Linked DNA regions of Homo sapiens: regions 1, 2, 3, 4, 5 and 7 are each linked to region 6. Evidence: promoter capture Hi-C in 16 types of primary human blood cells and fetal thymus (Javierre and others, 2016). All regions are on one chromosome and are shown on one strand. Each heading gives the region's core, a stretch centred on a gene start or on the middle of the fragment in contact. The rest is flanking DNA. Distances are from core to core; before and after follow the strand shown. Region 1 overlaps ABCD2 (ATP binding cassette subfamily D member 2). Region 2 overlaps KIF21A (kinesin family member 21A). Region 3 has its middle 20 kb from the start of KIF21A. Region 4 overlaps KIF21A (kinesin family member 21A). Region 5 overlaps KIF21A (kinesin family member 21A). Region 6 holds the start of SLC2A13 (solute carrier family 2 member 13). Region 7 overlaps KIF21A (kinesin family member 21A).

Region 1 (3,448 bases), core at 4-2,503, 530 kb before region 6:
TCTCACTTTTCTAGTTCTCAGTTTCTTCATCTGTAAAATAGGAAGATTAGATTTCCTAAATTCCACAGGGTTGTTGTGAGGCTTAAATAAGATGTACCTGGAACAGAATAAGTGCTCAACTATTATGATGATGATGAATCAATGGAAAAGTAGGGGAATTGTAAAATTAGCATCTTTATTTGAAGGGGAAATTCTATATGGTTTTATGAGATATTAGTTCTAAAAAAATTTAGCTCATTTTTCTTTAAACCAACTAAAAATAAGCCCTCCCCCCTTCCCCACCACCACCTGTGTTTTCTCCACTTAATCCTTTGGGGGAGTATCAAGTTGTGTGTACATATATTTTTTTCCCCAGATTTTACTTTCCTGGGTTTTAGAGAAAGGACTAAAAGAATGATGTACAAATATATAAATATATTTTTCCCAGTACATGTTACTGGGTAATGATAAATATTTTCCATTAAAATAAATCACTGGATTTTTCCATGTCTTTTAAGAATTACTGGAAACTGATGATAATTCAAATAATACACTAATGATATTAGGTAGGGAGTATCTAAGCTACTAATGTGCAACTTAAGAGAAATATGGGTAGAAAATAAGTGAAATACCCTACCCTCTACTGTGAAAAATTTAGCAAAGTTATTTTTTGAGAAATTTAAGGAAAAACCATCTACCACAAATTAGCACTAGAAACACTTACCAAAGAGAAGGTCTGTGTGTTATAGACAGTAAGGAAATTCCAGCCCCTTTTGCAGCCTGAAATATCTTTCCTTCGACATCAATGCTGACAGCACTGGTACATTCATCCAGCAAGGCATATTTTGGTCTTTTAAAAAGTACACACAAAAATTAATTATTTTGCTATATGAACTATAAGTTTTTCTTTGGACAATATGAGTTGCATTGCTAACAATTTTAATGGAGCAAAAAAGACTATGGCATTATTAAAGGCAATAAATGATAAAGCAAAAAAGTAGTTGTCCCCTTCTTTGGACTATAATATCACATTTTTAATACATTTAAATAGATTTTCTGACGCTTTCTAATAATACAATAAGCTTTATTGTCTTGTAGATGAATGAATCATAAATATGGGACATAGGAAAGATGAGGCAGGTCACTGAGTACATTTTCCTGCAGAAAGCAGGTTCATTGTTGGTGAGAAGGGTCTGACTAACTACATGAAAAATACATTGCAGTAGCTAATTATCAAACAGGCCACAGCCCTGTTAGCAAAGATTTAATGAGAAGATTATTTTATCAGCAATATGAATACCTAAGCATTACTAATGGAATTTCATCACTATAAGACTGCGAGAGTGAATGTGGCTCATCTTACAAATTTATAACACACATTTAACCTCATAATATTGGAACCATACTCCAGAATCAAATTCTTAGGAGGAAAAGTAAATATTTTTCTAAGTATATTGGACAATTTTTTAAGCTTATTTTTTACTTTGATAATGCCTGTCTGTTATCAGAGGCATCTTATCACTTGCCATTGTTTCCCTCTGCTTATCCTTTCTCCCTCTCATCTCACCCCCTGCTCTTACTTTTCTTTGTCCTTTCCCTTTCTTCTTTCAAGTCCCTCTGGACTGTTGGTACTTAGCATGACTTAGCTTAGTTAATGGGAACAAAGTCAACTCTTACACTGTCATTTACTATTCAATTTGGAGTTGAAAATCAGTATCAGGTATTTGCCGGGACAATTTTCTTTACAAAAAAATTCTGATTTTTAAAAATAAAATGACAAAAAAGTTAAAAAAATGAAAATCAGTAATTTCTTATCAGAATAAATCATTATTTGCCTTGTAAGTTACTGTCCTAAAATCGATTTGCTTATTAATAGAATCCAGTTACCTACCACAGGTCAGGTAGTCAGGGCTAATAGATACAGGAGTCAAAGACTCTAAAACTGCTCCCTATGCAAAGAATAAAAGATCAGTGCATGTTCTCCATGACAACATCAACAGAAGTAGTGTCACTGCTTGACCTTTGGTTACTGTTCTGGTTTAAGTATTAAGCATTACTTCTTTGTCTCAGAGTTATTTTCTGTTTTGTGGATGAATGATATTTTTAAGTGAACAAGAGGAAGAAGTAAAGGAAGTATAAAAGTGAAAGGTTGAGTAAAATTTTCCTTTTGTGTAAACCTCTTTCCAGTGATTAACATGTTTATTGCATTTTGGCTTATTTTTCAGAGTGCCTTGATCGAAACAGAGAAAATATACCATTTTAGAATTAGAAAAATGTATGCATCTTACACTCCGTTGTCATAGCAACCTCTACTCTAGCAGATGTAAGATCACATGTTTTAGTTTCCTTGGCAGGGCTGGTGTGTGTCTGTGTGTGTTTGTGTGTGTACTTGAATATATCAAGCAATAGCTAGAATTCGATACTGATATAAGAAAAAAAGCATTAGGTAATATTGTTTCTCAGATTTGCTTTCCTTTTTGCTTTGTGTATCATCAGTAGAATGGGCTTCGTGAAGGATTTAATCTATCCCCTTAAGACAGGAGTTTTTCAATCATTCTTGAGCTATTAAAACATTTAAAATCCTCTCAAAAAGAGAATACTATTGTGATGCTTAGTACTTCCTGCTAAAGTTCTTGATTTTTGCCAGCTCAAGTCTTTCACATCACAATTCAAACTTTAAATCATTTGAGAATGAGGGAAGGCAGTTTCCTATTGTTAAACTTTCTCTTCACTAGATTGAATACCTAAAATTCCTTTTATCTTTTGTCAAAAGATTGTGCTTTTCAACTACTTGCTCTTCTTCATTGATCTTTATGTGGCTCACTAAATTTTCTTTCCACTGATATACTTGTGACTTATCTTCACTCATTATCACATTATATCCAAAATATTTTAGTTACACAAACACCAAGTATTTATTTCAGGTTACAGATATGTGAAATCTCTTTGGGTTAACATTTATTAATGCCACTTGCTATTTATTACAAGGTTTATTTTATTAACACACTGATACAGTGACAAATTTATGGCTAAATTTTACATTCCACCATATTACATTTCTATGCTGGTGATCATATTACTGGGTACTTATGGCCTAGACCCAAACAGATTCAGGGTGATAGTGGGTAACAGCTGGTCATAAATGCCAAGCTGTAAAGTTTTTGTTGTTGTTGTTGTTGTTGTTTTTGAGACGGAGTCTCATACTATTGCCAGGTTGGAGTGCAGTGGCACCATCTCGGCTCACTGCAATCTCCGCCTCCTGGGTTCAAGTGATTCCGCTGCCTCAGCCTCCCGAGTAGCTGGGACTATAGGCGCCCGCCACCATGCCTGGCTAATTTTTTTTAATTTTTGTAGAGACGGGGTTTCACTATGTTGGCCAGGATGGTCTGGATCTCCTGTCCTCATGATCCACCCGCCTCGCCCTCCCGAAGTGCTGGGATTATAGGCGTGATCCACCGCGCCCGGGATC
Region 2 (3,394 bases), core at 74-2,573, 780 kb before region 6:
CCTTTAGGCCACCACTTCACATCTCTCTCTAATGTCCCACAGTGGCATAACTAAATAGGCTTTCTCAGAGCCTGAAAGATCAAATTTATCTTAAGAGATTCTCTCCTTTGCTTAGGACTAGATCCGAACCATAGCAGAATGTTTTATTTGAGTTTTGGTAACTTCTGTTTAGACACTTAGAATAATAAAACACAAACCACATGTTGCGAAGCCAATAGCTCAAAGATCATGTGTAAGAGCCTGGAGATGTTTTTTGATTGGCTTAACCAGTGTTTTAATAATCCGTGAAATCTATGTAAAAATCCGTATTTAAGAATTCTCTTGAAAAAACAAAGGATCTGGTAGCCTTAGGCCCATATTCCCACACAGCAAAAATGAGCAAAACTTGATGGTGGCTATTTCCTTTTAGATGGGGCATGTACTCTCCAGGAAATCATAATGATGAACCGTTCATTGTATATCCAGCTAAATTAGTCATTTGCATTACCTGATTAACCACTGTGGGCCTTAAATATATACTATCCATTGCACAGTATTATTATTTCAGGTCCTGATTCAATCCATTCATTCAACAATATTTAATAAGCACTGCAAGAATTCTTTGTTTTCAAACATTGTATGATTGTTAGTCAAATCACCTACTATCAAATGCTACCACATTCAACCTGATATGTACCATAGCTATCTCACACATTTAACTGCATGTATAATTTATATCATTTTTTAAAACCCTACAAATACGCATCATAGCTTCATAAATTTTTAACACATAATAATTACAGATTAGATTATTAGTAAAACCACCTCAAGGCACAGTTAAACAAATAAGAAACACTTAAGAACACACTAGAATGCTAAAATTTTAAAAATCTCCTGCCAATCTAAATGACTGAGATTGTATGCCACTACAGAGTCTACAATTTAGTTAATCAGCAGCTTAAGAATCACCCTCCATAATTGTGTTATCTAGTGGGAAAAATATAAGAATACAGTAAAGCCCAATTTCCACCAAGGAGAATTTTTTTTTTTTTTTTGAGACGGAGTCTCGCTCCGTCGCCCAGGCTGGAGTGCAGTTGCGCGATCTCGGTTCACTGCAAGCTTCACCTCCTGGGTTCAAGAGATTCTCCTGCCTCAGCCTCCCGAGTAGCTGGGACTACAGGCACCTACCACCACGCCCAGCTAATTTTTTTTTTTTTTTTTTGTATTTTTAGTAGACACGGGTTTTCGCCGTGTTAGTCAGGATGGTCTCCATCTCCTGACCTCCTGATCATCCGCCTTGGCCTCCCAAGTGCTGGAATTACAGGCATGAGCCACCGTATCTGGCCAGAGAAATTTTTTAATATAAATTTTTTCAGTTACCACTTAAAGGGAAATATGATTAAAAAAACTAAATAAAGAAGAGCTTTAGTAAAACCATGCCCTCTTGCTAATCTATTAAGAGTCAAATCTGAACCTATGTGTTAAATAGTGATAACAAATAATGGTGTAAAACATGTTTACCTGATACTTTTAGTTCTCCTTACCTTGTTCTTAGGTTTCACTTCACCACAAAGCTTCATGAGATCTGAAGACAGCGTGCTATGTGCAAATAAATAATTAAGCACAAGATTAAATAGAAAATTATTATAGAAAACTATAGCTCCTCTATATCAACGACTACAAAAAATTTATATGCCTATGGGAAATACAGAAAGACAATATTTAAAGTCAAAATGAATTAATTTAAAAATAATTCATTTATGTTCCTTAAATATTTCAATATTTTCATTTTAAAATTTATGATAGTTAAGCATGACTTAACTTGGTTTCTATTTACTGTTTCTAAGTGCTATTCACTAGGCCATTAGATTGAAAATTATTTCTGTTTTATGGTAATTGTTTGATACAAGATGAAAGTATTTAAAATATGTAAATAAGTCAACTCTATTGTTTCTAAAGGCCTTCTTACCTTCCTTCTGATCCTGGGCTGTTTAAAGGAGCATCCTCATCAGTACTATCCTCTACATTTTCTACAAAAAAATGTTTAAAATGTAAGCATTATCCCCATGTCACAGTTTGAATGGTGACTGCAATCCATAGGCTGTAATAAACAACAGCTCAACATCTCAATATGGGCACGATGGTTTTAGTAGCTGAATCTAAATAGACAGAATTGTAGAAAAGTATTTCTAAAAACTCTCCTTTGATTGTGTGTTCTAGAATGAGTAAAACATGTTCAAATAGGAAAACCATGACTTTGAATGGTAAACTGTAGAAGAGTAACATCCTTCTGAATGAGATGGGTACATATGAATACTGAAGAGTCATGTACGTATCCTGTACCATCCAAACATACAATAATCCACTGTTTAAAAATATAAAGTAAATGCTACATGAGCCTCCTTTAATGTACTGAGTCAACCAAGAATACTACATAAAGTGTAAATATAGTTGTTATACTTTATCAGTTATGCCAATGTACTTGAATATTTTTCCTTTTTTAATTTTTGTATTTTTGCCTACATACAGAGAGAAGGTGTGCATGAGGGTGTTCAGAAGTCACACATCAGCATGCAGCTCATTCACATGAACACAGAAGACAAAAACAATAGGCTTGCATGCAACAGCTCTGTAAACTAATACAAATAAACCACTGCTATTTCAGAACAACTGTAGTAGACTAGTGAAAAGGGAGAAGAATTAAACATATAAAACTGTTAGGAAGTCAGTAAATAAAACAGCCACAGAAAGTAAACGACTTAAAATGCCAGCGAGCCCCTAACATAGGTGTAGGTTTTTTTAATGTATATTTTATTATAAAAATCATTCAATAAATCTAAAGACAAAATTATGAGCAACATATACATTAAAGAAAAATATATAGGGTTCATCCCCTTTTAATTTTTAATTTTATATAATACAGGTAGGCTATGGCACCATTAGTCAATTGATTCATTTCTCTCCACAAATGTTCTCTTCCTTTCTCATTGTTCAGTAATACTTGGTATTATTACCTAAAATAGAATCATATCTAGGACTCACTCAAAGGGGTTTACTTTCTGAAGTGAAAAAAATGGTGATTTTGAAGGCAATATGTATCTCATTAGAGGGAGGCTCAAGGACTTGCTTCACAGAAAAGATAACTGAGTTCTAAGGTACTGAATTAGTCAGTAACATAGAAAATTATGTTATAAAGAAATGACAAACCTAGCCTCTGTTTTCCATGTGTTTTAACAGCAGGCTAAGATTTGCTAGTATTTTTCTTGCACAGTGTGATGAAATTAAATGTTAAACATCATGCAAGTGCTTCGTAAAAAGCTCTTAACTCCTGCTTATGCCTGTATGCCTTAGTTAGAGATAATGGTGTCTTGACAGAACCAGTCTGGCCAGAGCCCAGAGGATCTCACTCAGATGG
Region 3 (3,531 bases), core at 304-2,803, 640 kb before region 6:
TAGAGGCTGGAAGAGTTTTGAGGCACATATTAGAAATATGGGCATTAGTGATTCTTGTGTGGTCTCAGATGGAAGTGAATAACCTGTTATCAGAACTAGAGGAAAGGCAATCCTTGTTATAAAGTGACAAACACTTGACTAAATTGTGTACTAGTGTTTTGTGGAAGGCAGAACTTGCTTGCAATGAAACTAGGTATTTAGCTAAGGAGATATATAAGCAAAGTGTTGAACGAGTGGCTTAGTTCTTCCTGACTGCTTATAGTAAAACGTGAATAGAGAGAGAGGAATTAAAGAAGGAATTGTTACACACAAAAAAACCCAAAACTTGAAGATTTAAGAAGTTCTCAGCTGCCCATATTGCAAAAATAAGAAAGCATATTCTGAAAAGCACACCAGAGGTGTTGCTAGACTGTCACTTGTTAAAGAGTTTATGGAATTATACAAAGAGAAACATTGCAAGTTTGAGCTGAAGGGGATTGAGATGGGATGAAATAAAGGAAGGCTTTTAGACCTCTTGGATTTGATAGGATGGGATGATAGTGCCATTTGGCTGAGAACATGCACTATTCATCAAGAGGCAACAATGACCCTGAAGGTGATTAAGAGGGTGATCAAGGCCACTACCTTAGTTTTAACCAGCCAAACAGCCTCTGCCTGAAGCTGTTGGGGTGGGACCCTGACCTGGAACAAAGGAGCAATGCAGCCACCACAGTGTATCCAGAGAGCAGAACATCAAGCAAAAGAGGATTATCCTCAAGCCTTAAGATCTAATGAAATTTGCCTTACCAGGACTTGGATTTGCTTGGGACCTGTCACTCCTTTCTTTCTTCTGAAATGACCGTTTTTGAATGGAAATGTTTATCTTATGCCTGTTCTACCAGGGTATTTTGAAAGCATATAACTTTTTTGATTTTACAAGTTCACAGCTGGAGATGAATTTTGCCTCACTATATATCATAAGTCCAGTTTCACCCATATTTTATTTAGATGATATTTAGATGAGACTTTGAACTTTAGAGTAGATGCTGGAATTAGTTAAATCTTTTGAGGCTATTGGGATGGAATGAATGTATTTTGCATGGAAGAAAGACATGTATTTTGGGGGACCAAGGATGGAATTTAGGGACTGAATATTTGTGTCCCCCACCCCCAAATTCATATGTTAATGCCCTGACCCCCAATATGATAATATTTCAAGATGGGACCCTTGGGAGATAATTAGCGTTAGATGAGGTCATGAGTACGTGGCCTTCATAATGAGATTAGTGCCCTTATAAAAAAAAGGAAGGAAGACCAGCTCTCTCTCTCTCTCTCACTCCCTCTCATTCTCCCTCACTCTCCCTCTCTGATGATAGAAAATATCATCAGGATATTAAAATATCCCTATCTTTTAGAAAGAGGTCAGAGGGGAAACCAGAGAGCAGGTTTGAGGGGTGAGGACTGCAAGTGCTAAAGCTTGAACAGATTATCAAACTCCAAATTATTCATGTGATGATGCCTACTCATTTGGGAGGGAAAGAGGGAGATCCCTCCCTCCATACACAAAAATTAATTTTTAAGGTATAAAATACCCATATATAAAAACCAAAACTATGTAAGTATTAGAAGTAACTACAAAATATATGATACAAATCAAAAGTTTTATAAAAGAAAAGCTTGACAAGTTGAGTACATAAAAGTTTTAAACTGCTACAAAAAAAGACAACTTGAACAAAGTTAAAAATAAGTGACAAAGCAAAAGATTGCTATATATGTATTACAAAGGATTCATATCCAAAATATGTTTTGTTTTGTTTTGTTTTGTTTTGTTTTTGAGACAGACTCTCACTCTGTAGTCCAGTCTGGAGTGCAGTGGTGCAATCATGGCTCACTGCAGTATCCACCTCACCGGCTCAAGGGATCCTCCAACCTCAGCCTCCAGTAACTAGGACCACACATCCAGCCAATATTTAAATTTTCTGTAGAGAAGGAGTCTCCCTATATTGCTCAGGCTTGTCTTGAATTCCTGGGCTCAAGCGATGCTCTCACCTTGGCCTCCCAGAGTACTGGGATTACAGATGTGAACTACCACGCCCAGTCCCAGAATATGTTATAAATCTCCTACAAATCAAAATGAAGAGACCAAAAAATTTTACAGAATGAGCAAAAGATATGGACTGACCATTCACAGAAGAGATCATACCAAACAACAACAACACAAAATGGTGCTCACCTTAGTAGTAATTAGGAAAATGCAAAATAAGGCAAAAAGTCAATGGCATTTTTGATCCTTTAGATTGTTACTAATAATGGCTTTCTGATAGAATCACAAATGTTGGCAACGTTTGACACTTCTTAGTGTTTTCCATATATTAACTCATTTAATCCTCACAGTAACCCTATGATTAGGTGCTATATTGTCATCCATATTTTAAATATATTAACTCATTTAATCCTCACAGTAACCCTATGATTAGGTGCTATATTGTCATCCACATTTTACAGTTGAACTGAGGCACAATATGGCTTAGTAACTTATACTGAGGTCTCACAGCTAATAAGTGGCTCTAGAGTCAATGCTCTAACCATTTCATTACATTGTGTATCAACTGGTAGCAACCTTTCTGGATGATAATTTCGCTGTAATAAAAACTTTTAAATAAATACACACTCAGACACATGAACTGTCAATTCTTGAGAATTGACAGTTCTGCTCTCTGGAATCAGAGGACTTAGGTTGGAGTATGAATCCACCTAATTACTGCCAAGTGCAAACAAGTCACTTCACTTCTCTGAGTTTCAGAATTTTTATGGTATTTATTTTTATAGATTTAGTGAGTACAAGTACAGGTTTGTTACTTAGATATTTGCATAATAATTTTCATTTTAAAATGAAAATTCTATATGGTTGCATTGTGAAAATTAAAAGAGATTATATATTAGAAACACTTTGCAAATCAAAAACACTTTAAGACATTCTCTGATCTTACTGAATTTTTGTACTTTAAGAAAGCACTGGTGCTTGAGTTTTTGAATTTACTGAATAAAAATATTTCAGTGGAAAGCTAGTAGTCTTTCTGAATTTTCTTTTTTTTTTTTTTTTTGAGACAAAGTCTTGCTCTGTTATGGAGGCTGGAGTGCAGTGGTGTGATCTCGGCTCACTGCAACCTCTGCCTCCCTGGTTCAAGTGATTCTCCTGCCTTAGCCTCCAGAGTAGCTAGGATTACAGGCCTGCACTGCCATGCCCAGCTAATTTGTTTTGTTTTGTTGCATTTTTAGTAGAAATGGGATTTCACCATGTTGGCCAGGCTGCTCTTGAACTCCTGACCTCAAGTCATCTGCCCACCTCAGCCTCCCAAAGTGCTGGGATTACAGGCGTAAGCCACTGCGCCCAGCCAGTCTTTCTTAATTTGATGAGCCTGTAATTTAAAAAAATTAAAAAATCAGTTTTGGAGTTGGTCATCAGCATTTTCAGGACGAAATACTAAGCTAAGAATTCAGCAGGCACTGGGAGTGGCAGATGACAAAGAAATAGGACTCATAGTGCTTCCC
Region 4 (3,103 bases), core at 146-2,645, 750 kb before region 6:
GAAATTTTATAGACCCCAAAACTCTTAGACTTTAGATTCCTAAAGGACAGGGATTATCAACTTTTATTTATCAGCATACTTCTAAACATATAACACAACATTTGAACCAATATTAGGTCATTAACAATTGTGATGTGTGTCATGTGTACATAATATTTACTGGGGGTCAGAAAGTTAAAATAATTCATGCCATTTTAGTTTTCTCTTTTGATAAAGAAAATAAGGTAATTCAGTAAGCGTGAGGATTATGGATGCTGATTAGAGAATAGAGCAACTTGAAGTGTGGTCCCCAGTCTAGCACCAGTCTGCAGATTATTTTTACTTACATAAAATTGGGGAAAATAAATTTATATTAGCCTTCTTTGACCCACAACACCTTGAGTAAGCACAGGTACATACATCCATTTCTTACTTATTTACAAAAAATGTTTAAAGTAATGCAGAAATTGCAAGTAAGCACTTTAGAAACTTCCACAACACTTGAACTTCCTGTAATCAATGACCTCCTCTCATTGAGTATAGATCAGTTCAAGTGTTTTCAAACTCCGATGGTGAGTCACAAATGGGGCAAGCTCTGTATGGTCATGCACAATATTAACTCACCACAAATTGGAAAGAAGGGAAGGACTCGCCTTTAACAAATATTTTGAGAAGTGCTGGGATCAAGGGCTTAAGAAGAATAGTGAAAGTCAGGAATAAGAGTAACTGGCAAGGATCAATTGTATAGGGAAAACATCATATATTAAACAAAACCCAAAATATATAAATTTCAAGAATGATTCTATTTATGAAAAACTCAAAGAAAATAAAATAAAGCTAAAAAAAAGCTATTTATTTTAAAAGTTCACACAAAAAGCACACAATTCTGCTTTAAAGAGAACTATATCACTTAAATATTTTATTATATTGTATATTATATTTCTTACAAATTAAGTTATACTACACATCTTGAAAATGTATCACAATGTTAGCAGTAGTTACTTCTAGGTATTAGAAATATGATTTTTTTTTTTTTTGAGATGGAGTCTCACTCTGTCACCCAGACTGGAGTGCAGTGGCACAATCTCAGCTCACTGCAACCTCCGCCTCCTGAGTTAAAGCGATTCTCCTGCCTCAGCCTCCCAAGTAGCTGTGACTACAGGTGCCCACCACCATGCCCAGCTAATTTTTGTGTTTCTATTAGTAGAAACGGGGTTTTGCCATGTTGGCCAGGCTGGTCTTCAACTTGTGACCTCAGGTTATCCGCCCACCTAGGCCTCAAAGTACTGGGATTACAGGTTTGAGCCACTGTGCCCAGCTATAAATATAACTGATTTTTATTCATGCTTTATACTTTCCTGTATTTTCCAGAATTTTTGCCATAAACTGGTTATGATATTTATTAAACACTGTAAATGTAAAAAAACCAGCTCGAATTTTTTAAAAGACACTAAATTATGCACATAAACATATGGAGCTTATTTTCAAAAATATCCTTGGTCTAATTTTTCTTTTAAGTTTAATTTGTATAAACTTCAAAAAGTGAAGATATTTTGCTCTCCAAGGCTTACACAAAGTACAGTGCTTTTGCACTAGGAATGCAATCCTAAAATTTTAAGCAAAAATTGAGGCACACGAAGAAAGGAATTAGAAGGGGTCATCTCCTTTGAGGGGTTACCACCCATTAAGGAAATAGGTGAGGAACATGAGACTATTTAGCTGTAGCCTAAAACTCAGCAGAAATTCAAGATCCACAGTGAAAATATCTTAGACCACTTATAAGGTAAGCAAACTTTCAAAAGTATTGAAGTTTTCAAGAGTTAAAATAGTAAGGGGAGGACATATATCATGTCTGCTTTGTTTTATAGTTAAGAAATAAATACAGGAAAAAGCTACAATTTAGAAAACCCGAAAAAATTTACACTTGGCTGAAAAAATGAAAATTTTTATTCTGTTATAATAAGACCCCTCTTGATACTGAAGATCAAACTGAAAATATAGAACACAAGAAATATATGATAGTGGAAGGAAAACTGCATCCATACATAGGATGTGCTGGAAGAGACATGAGTTAAGACAAATGCTAATAGTACATAAAAGGAAGAAACATAAAAATGACAATGTTGTATTCTACAAAACAGAACTTTCTTTCTTTTTTTTTTTTTTTTTGAGACGGAGTCTCGCTCTGTCTCCCAGGATGGAGTGCAGTGGCACGATCTCCGCCTCCTGGGTTCACGCCATTCTCCTGCCTCAGCCTCCCGAGTAGCTGGGACTACAGGCGCCCGCCACCACGCCTGGCTAATTTTTTTGTATTTTTAGTGGAGACAGGGTTTCACCGTGTTAGCCAGGATGGTCTTGATCTCCTGACCTCATGATCTGCCCGCCTTGGCCTCCCAAAGTGCTGGGATCACAGGCATGAGCCACTGCGCCCGGCCAAAACAGAACTTTATTTCTAAACCAAACGGATTATAAACTTAAAAGGATTTAATATTATCCAAAATTATTTGGATAATAGTTGTTGATACAGTTTGGATCTGTGCCCTCACACAAATCTCATGTAAAATTGTAATCCCCAGTGTTGGAGGTGGGGCCTTGGTGGGAGGTGATTAGATGTTGGGGGCAAATTTCCCTCTTGGAACTGTTCTCATGATAGAGTTCTCAGGGGATCTGGTTGCTTAAAAGTGTTTGGCACCTTCCTCTCCTTCCTCCTGCTCCAGCCCTGTAAAGTTCTCACTCCCTCTTTGCCTTTTGTCATGACTGTAAGTTTCCTGTGGCCTCCCTAGAAGCCAAGCAGCTGCCAGAATCATGCTTCCTGTAGAGCCTACAGAACTGTAAGACAATTAAACCTCTTTTCTGTATAAATTACCCAGTCTCAGGTATTTATGGCAGTGCAAGAACGAACTAACACAGTTGTTCAAAAAGAAACCTTGCTAGTTTAAATACTAGATTTGTTGTATAGCATCTAATAATCTTTTCAGTAAATATGATGTTACATTATTGCAAACACTGTAAAATAGATTCACTGTGGTTGTTGGTAACTTGTTGAATTGTGCTATGATTGAATTTAAATCCCAAAAATGTTTCCATTTGTAAAGCCAACATATTTACAGAGGGGAATACATTA
Region 5 (3,050 bases), core at 413-2,912, 690 kb before region 6:
CAAGGAATTAGGCATAATTATTCTTGCTGTTATCAGGAATGGTCATATAAAGATTATGTTTTACCCAATTGTCCTTTTTACTCTCTCCTCCCTCACAATTTATTCAATGACAAAAGGGCAGCTGTGCAGAAAGCAGACCAAAAGTGCTCACTATGAAACCATTAATGGTTATTACATTACTGTCTCTAATACTTTATTATCAAAAGATCTAGCTGATATTTGGCTGACAACCATGTACTACAAACATAGTGTGAAAATCATCTTTAAGAAAGAATTTAAAGCTCTAAATGGCTCTTAAAGAATTCTACACAGTCTTGGTAAGCATCTCATCCAGTTAAACGTAAGACCTAAAGATCAAATAGATACACTAGCTGTTGACAATTAGGGAGTCCCAGAAGCACCATAACTCTGGGAAGAAATCCATGCATGCAGGCTGGTAAAAACAGGTAGGTCTAGCAGTAGGCAGAGAACATTAGGAAAATGAGGTTAAGCAGCAGGCAGTGAAGTCTAAGCAGATATGCAGTCGGCCTCAGGAAAATAATGTCAGCAGGTATAAGAGACCCAATCACAAAGATTTACTTTGATTTATAACAAAAATTTAGAGAGTCAATCAACAAATGTTTATTGAAGGACTCACGAATTAGTCACTGTTCTGAATACTGGGGATCTAGATATTAATAACATGATGAAGATTACTTACTATATACAAGGTTCTGTGCTAAACATTCTGTGATTACAAGTGTTTTGTTTTTTGGATTTTTTTTTTTTTTAATGGAATGGGTTTATCAGAGAGAAAAAAAAAAGCAAAGCAAAATCAGCCTAGGACTGGGAAAACACCATCAAAACACTGCAAGTAACTGTTAGAGGTCACTGTGGACAAGCCTAATGAAGTTAGTCTAAACGCACCTGAGAAACATTGAAAATCTTTCTTAGGAAGGCTGTTCAACAGAACTGAGTTCCTGGCCTTTCCTTAAGTCAGTTTTTTTTGTTTTGTTTTGTTCCTATAGTTAAATTCAAAATCAGGACGGAAATTTTTTTAAAAGTCTGGTAGAGAATGCTTTTTTTTTTTTTTTTTTTTTTTTTTTGAGATGGAGTCTTGCTCTGTCGCCCAGGCTGGAGTGCACTGGCGCGATCTCGAATCACGGCAAGCTCCGCCTCCCGGGTTCACGCCATTCTCCTACCTCAGCCTCCGGAGTAGCTGGGACTACAGGCGCCCGCCACCACGCCCGGCTAATTTTTTTGTATTTTTAATAGAGACGGGGTTTCACCGCATTAGCCAGGATGGTCTCGATCTCCTCAACTCGTGATCTGCCCGCCTCGGCCTCCCAGCAGCCTCGGCCTCCCAAAGTGCTGGGATTACAGGCGTGAGCCGCCGCGCCCGGCCGAGAATGCTTCTTTAAAACATAAATGATTTTAGCTCCCTTATGTCTGAGAAGCTTTCCATGACCTCATCTTCCACTTCTGTAATCTGGCAGGTCATTAGAAAAGACACTTTATTAGTGTCCCTCTCAATCTGCAGGAGATATTTCAAGCTTCACATATCAGCTTCACATTTTGTTACCTTTGACTTGACTTTAACTCCTCCCACCTTTGCCTCTCCCCACCTACTCTCTATTCCAACAATGTTGGCCTGCTTTCTATTTCTGAAACATGCTGGGGAATTTCCCACTCCAGGGCTATTGTATTTGGATTCCCTCTGCTTAGACAGCTCTTCCTCTAAATATAGGCATCACATCCTTTGACCACTTCTTTCAAGTACAAGTGTTATTTGGTTGTTGATATCAGTTCAAGGAAAGCTTAATGATGAACTAACCAGTAAACGAAGCTGGTAACTAAGGTGCAGGGAGCAACAAGCCAGGGTACAAATTATTGGAATAGTGATATAAGGCATGGCCAAAATTCAGTTCCTGGAATCAAGCTATTGAAGAGCCAATAATAAAGTTTTAATTCATTCAGAAAGAAAAAAAAAGTTTATACCTACACCAAGTACTAGAGATGAAAAAAATCAAAAAGGCAACACCTGGCCCTAGTCACTGCCCTTTTAATTAATATTCTCTGATACTCTCAAAGTCTCTGGTTTGTCATCTTTAAAACAGGAATAACAATAAGCTGATTAAAATGCTCAAGTAAAAAAACTTGACAGCCGAGCGTGGTGGTTCATGCCTGTAATCCCAACACTTTGGGAGGCCGAGAAGGGCGGATCACCTGAGGTCAGGAGTTCAAGACCAGCCTGGTCAACATGGCGAAACCCCGTCTCCACTAAAAATACAAAAATTAGCCAGGTGTGGTGGCAGGTGACTGTAATCCCAGCTACTCAGGAGGCCGAGGCAGGAGAATCGCTTGAACCCGGGAGGTGGAGGTTGCAGTGAGCCAAGATAGCACCACTGCACTCCAGCCTGGGTGACAGAGTGAGATCCGCCTTAAATATACATATATATATATATGTACATATATATGTGTATATATATATATGTACATATATATGTGTATATATATATGTACATATATATGTGTGTATATATATATGTACATATATATGTGTGTATATATGTACATATATATGTGTATATATATATGTACATATATATGTGTATATATATATGTACATATATATGTGTATATATATGTACATATATATGTGTGTATATATGTACATATATGTGTATATATAGATATGTACATATATATGTGTATATATAGATATGTACATATATATATGTGTATATATATATGTACACACACACACATATAAATAAAAAAATTTTAAAAAACCTTGAGGATTCACTCTCTAATCTGCAAGGAGCCATACAAATGTTAGCTATTAGTATCATTCATTAACAGACTATAGCACTAACTCAATCATTAAATAGTAAACACCAGAACTAGCATGAAGGCCATGTGTGTGAATGGCTAGGAATGGGGCCAGAAGAAAAATGCAGTATATAAGACATTAATGAGAAAGAAACAGGATTTGGCTACAACAAGGGGTACATAAAAAAAAAGAAATTTGTAAAATGTATCAGAAGACACAGTGTTATGGGAGAGAATGA
Region 6 (3,483 bases), core at 368-2,867:
GCATTTATCCACAGGGGGAGTAGCTCCTAAATGAATTAAGGAAGTGAATATGACCTTTAATAGATAATTTGGTTCCCAACTGGAAAGCAGGAGAGGAAAAACAAAGAGGAGAATGGATAAAAAAGGATTCAAATGAAAAAGTTGGAAAAACAGAGGAGAATGGAATTTACTTGGGAAAAGAATGAAAGCTGAAAGGCAATAGAAAAAGCATAAAAGCAAAAGGAGATGCCATCTAAAGACAAATGCTAGATAAGCAAAGAGGGCAGGGGTCGCTAATAAACCTTTCAGAGTCCAGAATTACTTAACTCTAAATATTATCTCACTGTAACTTGACGATGGTCTAGGTTCCAGGCTGGGAGCCCCAGAAAACGAAAGGGGCTAGCAGTGGAGAGGCAAGGTGGGACAGTGCAGGAAAGCAGAGACCCTCGTAAGCTCAAGAAGCAGCATCAGGTTAGGCTGGATCAAGGAAAGAGCTGGTGCTCAGCTAGGTTTCTGGAAGTGCTGAGAGGCAACAACCACTTGGACTGACTGGTCCGTGGCCTATCAAAGATTCCACGTGCGCTCGAGGGAGACTAGAGTGACACCCCCTCCCCCCCGACCCTCCCACCTCCCGGGAGAGCCTTGGAGGCTGGACCAACAAACAGATGGGCTCTGGAGGCCAGAGAAGTGGAGGATTCTCTGACCCTGGGAGACCAGACGGGGACCCCGATGGGCAAGAGGCACGCAACACCCAGGGTCAAGGGCGGTGACAATGGGATCCCGGGCGCCCTTCACGGAGCCCGAACTCACCGATGCCGAGTCCCACGACCAGGCGGCCGGCGAGCAGTGTCTCCTTGTTGTTGGCCGCAGCCAGCACCGCGGAGCCGGCGGTGAAGAGGGCACTGGCCAGGAGGATGGCAGCGCGGCGGCCGAAGACGCCGTTGAGGGCGCCTCCGGCCAGCGCCGAGACGGCAGCCGCCCCCACCGTGCTGGACACCAGCAGCTCCTGCCACAGCGCGTCCAGACTGAGCTGCCGCTTGAGCAGCAGCATGGCCCCTGACACCACCCCGGTGTCATAGCCAAACAGGAAGCCGCCCAGCGCGGAGAAGACGGCCACCACGTACACGAAGGCGGGGGTCTCGTCCTGCTGGAACTGCCGCCGCGCCGCGCGCTCCAGGTCCCCGACGCCGCCGCCGCCCGCGCCCGCGCTCTGCAGGCTGGTGCTCGATTCGGCGGCAGCCAGGAGGCTGCACTCCCCGGCCGCGCTCGCCGCGTCCGGCTCCGGCTGCTTCCTGCGCCGCTCGCCCATCAGGCTGCTCAGGCTCCGCAGCGTGTACTCCACATTCTCGCTTGCCTTGCGGGACATAGGGCAGGGGCCCGGGGCTGCCCGGGGGGACGCGGCTCCGCGGGCCGGCAGTCTCGGCGAGCTAGACAGCCCGAGCCGGCGGGAGCAACCGCCGCTGCCGCCGCTTTCTTCCTCCCGGCTTCCGCTCCGGCTGCCACGGCAGCAGCCGCCGCCACGGCCGCTCCGGGGAGAAAGTTGCTGCCCGCCGCGCTCCGACGCTGCGGAGTTGGAGCCCGGCGGGTCTCACTCCACACTCACGCCCCGCGCCTGCCGAGCTGGCGCTGCGGAGCGGGCGGGAGGCGGGACCGCGGGTCACGTGCAACCCCGGGCCGGCGGGGCGGGGCCCGGGAAACGTCCCGCCCCCTCCTTGGGCGGGGCCAGGCTCAGCCCGCCCCGGACCCCTAAACCCCGCCCTCCCGGTGGGTGCGACCTCTGACCTAGGCTCCCTCATTTAGGGCTCTGGCAACCGTATGGAATTAACCCTGCCTTCCGAGCTGCAGCGGTGGAGCAAGCCAATGTGGCGATGCCATCAGGCAACAGGCTTCCAGACGGGAAGCCACCCAGAATGTTTGCCGTGTTTGGAGAGGAGGGAGAGAGCACCTAAACCAGCCTCACTGTCCTTCCAGCAGCCTAGAGAGAGGGCTGGAAAAAATATCCTAGAATAGGACCTAGCAAGTACCCTTCCTTTTATAGTATTGTGACATTACCCAGCGTGGTCTACTTCCCTGGCATTAAATGTGTTTGTTCTGGAGCAATTCAGGGCTGCATGCTCCCATTTCTATAGCTAGTTTCCACTCTCATCGCCAGTCCCTCCTCAATTTATGCTTATTTTAAAGGAATGGTACATTTGATTCTTTGAGGACAGAGAACATATCTCTGTGGTGAATCCCAAACCCTCCTTCCATGGATCCCCGACCTGTAAAAGAAAATTCACATATATGCATTCCACTCATGTAACGGGTAATTCCCAGAAATAGAAAGAAAACTCAAGACCCTGATTTGTGATTCGGCAGGCAGTCTCCATTTCCCCGCCCCAACATGCTAACCAAAAGGTAGGATAGCTTCTCTCCTGAGAATCCCCACTGTTGCCCTCCATGAGGCACTGTTTTAACAGCCTCATTTACTTGAAACAAAGCAAAGATAACGTTATTTGCAACCAATTTTTTAAACTGTTGAGTGAATTAACAGTTGTTGGTTCATTTGGGGTTTGTTTCCCCCTTTAATTTAAATGTTTTTAAAATATACAGTTGCGCATCAGGGGCTAAAGATAGTTTGTTTTGTTTTGTTTTGTTTTTGAGACAGATTCTCGCTCTGTCGCCCAGGCTGGAGTGCAGTGGCGCTATCTCGGCACACTGCAGCCTCCGCCTCCCAGGTTCAAGCGATTCTCCTGCCTCAGCCTTCCTAGCAGCTGGGACTGCTAAAGATGTTTTGTGCCTCTAATTTGCTTTCATTCTTCAGGCTGAGGGCAAAAAGTCAAGCATCATATGATTCTATTCCTACAATTCCACTGCTCTTTTATTTCCCTTATTTGAGCAAAAGCTTTCTTAGCCTGGGGCCTATTTTTCATGCAGCTATAACTTTTTTCCTTTCAGACAAAAGGATTTTGTCATTCCTGTTTCAGTAAAAACTTATATTAGAATTTGTCAAAACTGCTTTCGTTTTGATTATCAGTCACGATTATCTCTACAATATAGTACTTTCCTTGCCAGCAACAAGGAAAAATAAACTAATGAAGCCAGACGGCTTAACTATTTAAATGTTATCGTCTGGCTTTAAAGCAAGGCTCTACCGTCATTCCCAGGCATCAGTTAAACAGAGAGAGCCTTTAGATCTGCAGCAATGAACTCTTTAATATTCAGACCTCGGACAATATTGCAGGTGAGAGCGCGCCTTTTCCGCGGCATGCTACGGTATAGTAAAACTGCGCCCCCTGGTGGTGAGCCAATTCCCACGGCTTCTGAAGAGAAGGGCTCCGCAGATGAGAAGCATCTGGTTCTTTGACAGTTCCCTCTTGCTGAGATGAAAATAAACTACTTTTTGTCTCAGCTGGTGCAGTGAACATCTTGGTTCCTGAGCATTCCTTGCTTGAAATTCAGCTTTGGGGTCATAGAACAAGAAACTACTTTAAAAATTCTGTTCCGTATTAGGACAGTTATGTA
Region 7 (3,356 bases), core at 677-3,176, 760 kb before region 6:
TTGAAGCTTATTTATTAATATGTTATGTTAAAATGTCCCCAACATAAATCAAAACATTAAAACAACCATAAATTTGTATAAAGTAAGTAAACAGCCTAGGCAGATATCGGTATGAAAAAACAAAACAAATAACAATATTTAACATTATGAGACAAATTAACATATAATGTGGCCAAAAAGTATTTACAAGCTACATATAACTTTTAAATAAAAGGCACAAACTTTGACTTGCAAAAACAAAACAAATAAATAACAAAAAAGGGTTTAATACGGCTTCTATTTTTTTTCTTCTAAAGGAAAAGATAAAAACCCATTTTGAAGATTTAGCTTGAACTTTCATTTGAATTAAATATAATTCTTACCTAAGTTTTGAAGCACCTGGTCTCTTTCAAGCTGAGTATCCCGAATTTTATGTTGCAGCATCATTAGCTTCTCTTCATACTGCTTTTTCAGAGTCTGCAGTCTTTTCTGGCTGTTTTCTAGTTCATCAATCAGCTTTTGCTTAATTGCAATTTCACAAGTAATGTTTGCCAAGTCTGCTTGATAATTGGCTATTTATAAAAGAAGAAAATAAAAATCCTGGTGCTAGGCCAAAATATCAGAATTCTAGCTTTCAAGCAGACCATAAAAACCATCAACTAGGTATTTTTATTCACTTAGTAGTTATTAGAAAAATTTCCTGGAAAAACCAACAACCAAAAGGTGAATGAGATAAAGAGTGTTCATTTTGGTCAAGGACAATGCTATTTGTATTAGGTAAGAATGGAAATCACACAATGACTAAATCCAGTAAGAGAAGTAACTCATTTGTTTAGCACATAAGCCTTGGAAGGCAAATGTAGGTCAGTGGTCACAGAAGTTTCTTTCATCAAGTATGAAATAGAGAATGTTAAGAGTTTTCTGTCATGGTTTAAACAACTTCCCAAAATGAATTTTTGCCCTTATACCAAAGGGCAAGTACCTTTTTCATCTGATTCAGAATCTGATTCATCAGAACTTTCACCCCCATCAATGTCATCTTCCTCCTCCTCCTCCTCCTCTTCTTCATCCTCATGATCACTCACTTCTTGACTTTCTTCCTAAAATGTGATTTGTAAAAATTAATAGCACAATATTGGCAAAACAAACTGACTCCCTCATTGAGAGAGGCTGCTGGAGTACAAAGTACGGAAACATAAAAAAATTCACTTGTCATCAGTATAAAAATGTTAAGGTTATTACAGAGTAATTTTGTCTTAAATCAAAAAGTATTTCATCTCTCATAGTATTCTACCCCTGACTCCCCAACACAATGCTTTCACAATACATAAGATTGAGAGTTGTCAATATTTTATAGCTTGTATCTCTGAAGAAACATCTTCAAAGAAATAGATTAAACAGAATGCATCATAAGCAGTTCACTTTTCTACAAGTAAGTTAGTAAGTTATCATCAACCAAGAACAACCAAACCTGGTGACTAAAACTGACAAGTTCATTCTTTCATACTTACCACTTCTAATTCATTGTTTTCTCTTTCCGAAACACCCTTTTCTTCTTTCTTCTCTTGGTCAGTGTCTGTATTATCCTCTTTACCAGCCACACTAAAAAAAGGAACATAAGGGTATGGTGTTAAAATAGAAAGGAAAATTATTCACTTTTTCTCCCTCAGATTTTTAGAAGCCATCAATGATTTGTGAAAACAAACTTTAAATGTTGGTCACTTAACTGAGCAAAGCTATTCTATCTGATGCTTCAGAGAAAAATGGAAATTGCCAATCAATCAACAGTGTAATGATTTATATCACTGGAGAAAAGCTTATTTTCAGAAAACACTGAGGAATAGATTATGCCCGAAAGCACGAGACCTCGACACCCCTAAGAACTAGTCACAGTAGCAGCCAATTAACTAGAATGTAAGGCAATTTAAATTGAAAAGAAATCAAACATTTTTGTTTTCTCATCTGAATACAAAAAAACTTCTCTCATATAAATACAAAGATATAAAAAACTACATTTTCACTGATGTCCTAATACATTTAAGAGTAAATTTAAAGTTCCAGTTTAAATCTGCCCACAGTAAGCTTGTCTACACTAGCTATATCCATCAGTATTTTCAGGTCTCCTTCAGGTAGTGGCACAGGCTCTTTTTTCTTAGGCTGCCCGTACAGCACAAGGCTACTTCTCATTATGGTCTCACACAATGTGTCTTTGCATACCAAAAACTGTCTAATGTTCAGGCTGCCCTTTGATTGAATAGAAAATTTCAGGGTCTGCCGCAAGATTCACCTTATAATTGGAAGCTCTCCTCTTAAGTTACCTAGTACCTACAGCCATAACTACACACATACCAGGGAATGATTATAGCTAAATTAATTCAGCCCTGGTGGCCCTGAGGAAAAGAGAGAAGTTTCGTACACCCAAATAACTCGAATCCTTTGTGGGTTTAGCAATCAACTATGCACAGAAATTACACTATTGATCACTAGACTCACATATTTAATTAAGCTAAACAACATTAAGTGAACTTTAAATGAATCTATATATGAACTATTTCCTTTTGTGCTATAGTAGCATTTTAAAATCATTAAAAAGCCCTTTGAGAGGCTGAGGCGGGCAGATCACGAGGTCAGGCATTTGAGTCCAGCCTGGCCAACATAGTGAAACCCCGTCTCTACTAAAAATACAAAACAGCCTGGCATAGTGACGCACACTTGTAATCCCAGCTACTAAGGAGGCTGGGGCAGGAGAATCGCTTGAACCCGGGAGGTAGAGGTTGCAGTAAGGCAAGATTGCGCCACTGCACTCTAGCCCGGGCAACAGAGCGAGACTCTGTCTCAAAAATAAATTAATTAATTAATTACAATAAATTTAAAAAATAAATAAATAGAATACTCAAATAATGCAATATTCTAAAAGTAAAATTCCTCTACAAAAAAAACTTTACAACTTTATCAGAATAGCTTAATAACAGCTATCATGTTTTCATATATTCTTCTATATTAAATAATTTCCCTAATACATGGATTGATTTTTAGCTTCTAGGCTAAAAACTTAATCTCATTTAGGCCCTATTATAGCTATAACTTTAATGATTAACTCTAGGTTTCTATTCTCAGAGATATTTTTCTACTGAGCACTATGAATATAAATACTTTTCCCTTGTAAGGACTTTTCAGAGTTTGTCATTTATGTTTATGTTATTATTTATTTAGTGTCTGTATTTCTCACTAGGCAGTCAGCTTCCTAAGGGAAGGGATCGTGTCTGTTTGCCTCCGCATTACATCCCTAGTACCCAGGTCCTGGCACATAATGAATGTGAAGTAAGTGTTTGTTAAATAAACCAATCCCTGTGACTATGCATGAGCACCTCTGTTTG

Evidence for each region. Contacts are between HindIII fragments. The CHiCAGO score rates a contact against its expected background, and 5 or more counts as called.
Region 1: a contact is called between a fragment that was not itself captured here and the fragment with the promoter of SLC2A13 in region 6, in 1 of 17 cell types (naive CD8 T cells). The highest score is 6.3, in naive CD8 T cells.
Region 2: a contact is called between a fragment that was not itself captured here and the fragment with the promoter of SLC2A13 in region 6, in 5 of 17 cell types (naive CD8 T cells, non-activated CD4 T cells, total CD8 T cells and 2 more). The highest score is 10.6, in naive CD8 T cells.
Region 3: a fragment that was not itself captured here is called in contact with the fragment with the promoter of SLC2A13 in region 6 in 4 of 17 cell types (total CD8 T cells, total CD4 T cells, naive CD4 T cells and 1 more); the score reaches 9.2 in total CD8 T cells.
Region 4: a contact is called between a fragment that was not itself captured here and the fragment with the promoter of SLC2A13 in region 6, in 4 of 17 cell types (total CD4 T cells, naive CD8 T cells, naive CD4 T cells and 1 more). The highest score is 9.9, in total CD4 T cells.
Region 5: a fragment that was not itself captured here is called in contact with the fragment with the promoter of SLC2A13 in region 6 in 3 of 17 cell types (naive CD8 T cells, total CD4 T cells and total CD8 T cells); the score reaches 8.8 in naive CD8 T cells.
Region 7: a contact is called between a fragment that was not itself captured here and the fragment with the promoter of SLC2A13 in region 6, in 4 of 17 cell types (naive CD8 T cells, total CD8 T cells, total CD4 T cells and 1 more). The highest score is 10.3, in naive CD8 T cells.

Annotation. Positions count from the first base shown.
Region 1 is chr12:39,573,013-39,576,460 of GRCh38, forward strand. ABCD2 (ATP binding cassette subfamily D member 2) reads right to left here. Exons shown (of 10, transcript NM_005164.4): 9 at 704-829. Among named protein-coding and RNA genes, the nearest start is that of ABCD2, 45 kb to the right of the region's middle. RefSeq lists an enhancer at 1,308-2,108. The HindIII fragment of the contact is 389 bases long and covers 1,060-1,448 here.
Region 2 is chr12:39,324,316-39,327,709 of GRCh38, forward strand. KIF21A (kinesin family member 21A) reads right to left here. Exons shown (of 38, transcript NM_001173464.2): 25 at 1,949-2,009; 26 at 1,524-1,578. LOC101927019 (a long non-coding RNA gene) reads left to right here. Exons shown (of 3, transcript XR_007063276.1): 2 at 2,200-2,307. Among named protein-coding and RNA genes, the nearest start is that of KIF21A, 120 kb to the right of the region's middle. The HindIII fragment of the contact is 455 bases long and covers 1,097-1,551 here.
Region 3 is chr12:39,461,637-39,465,167 of GRCh38, forward strand. No RefSeq gene overlaps it. Among named protein-coding and RNA genes, the nearest start is that of KIF21A, 20 kb to the left of the region's middle. The HindIII fragment of the contact is 200 bases long and covers 1,454-1,653 here.
Region 4 is chr12:39,359,392-39,362,494 of GRCh38, forward strand. All of the region lies in intron 7 of KIF21A (kinesin family member 21A), which reads right to left. Among named protein-coding and RNA genes, the nearest start is that of KIF21A, 82 kb to the right of the region's middle. The HindIII fragment of the contact is 4,505 bases long and covers 1-3,103 here.
Region 5 is chr12:39,414,173-39,417,222 of GRCh38, forward strand. The region is part of intron 1 of KIF21A (kinesin family member 21A); the gene reads right to left. Among named protein-coding and RNA genes, the nearest start is that of KIF21A, 27 kb to the right of the region's middle. The HindIII fragment of the contact is 264 bases long and covers 1,531-1,794 here.
Region 6 is chr12:40,104,464-40,107,946 of GRCh38, forward strand. It overlaps SLC2A13 (solute carrier family 2 member 13), which reads right to left and starts at 1,618. Exons shown (of 10, transcript NM_052885.4): 1 at 790-1,618. The coding sequence starts at 1,345. RefSeq lists silencers at 1,052-1,141, 1,152-1,221, 1,242-1,501, 1,522-1,771, 3,153-3,282 and an enhancer at 2,772-2,941. The HindIII fragment of the contact is 3,714 bases long and covers 1-2,861 here.
Region 7 is chr12:39,340,544-39,343,899 of GRCh38, forward strand. KIF21A (kinesin family member 21A) reads right to left here. Exons shown (of 38, transcript NM_001173464.2): 13 at 1,491-1,581; 14 at 962-1,079; 15 at 363-551. Among named protein-coding and RNA genes, the nearest start is that of KIF21A, 100 kb to the right of the region's middle. The HindIII fragment of the contact is 266 bases long and covers 1,794-2,059 here.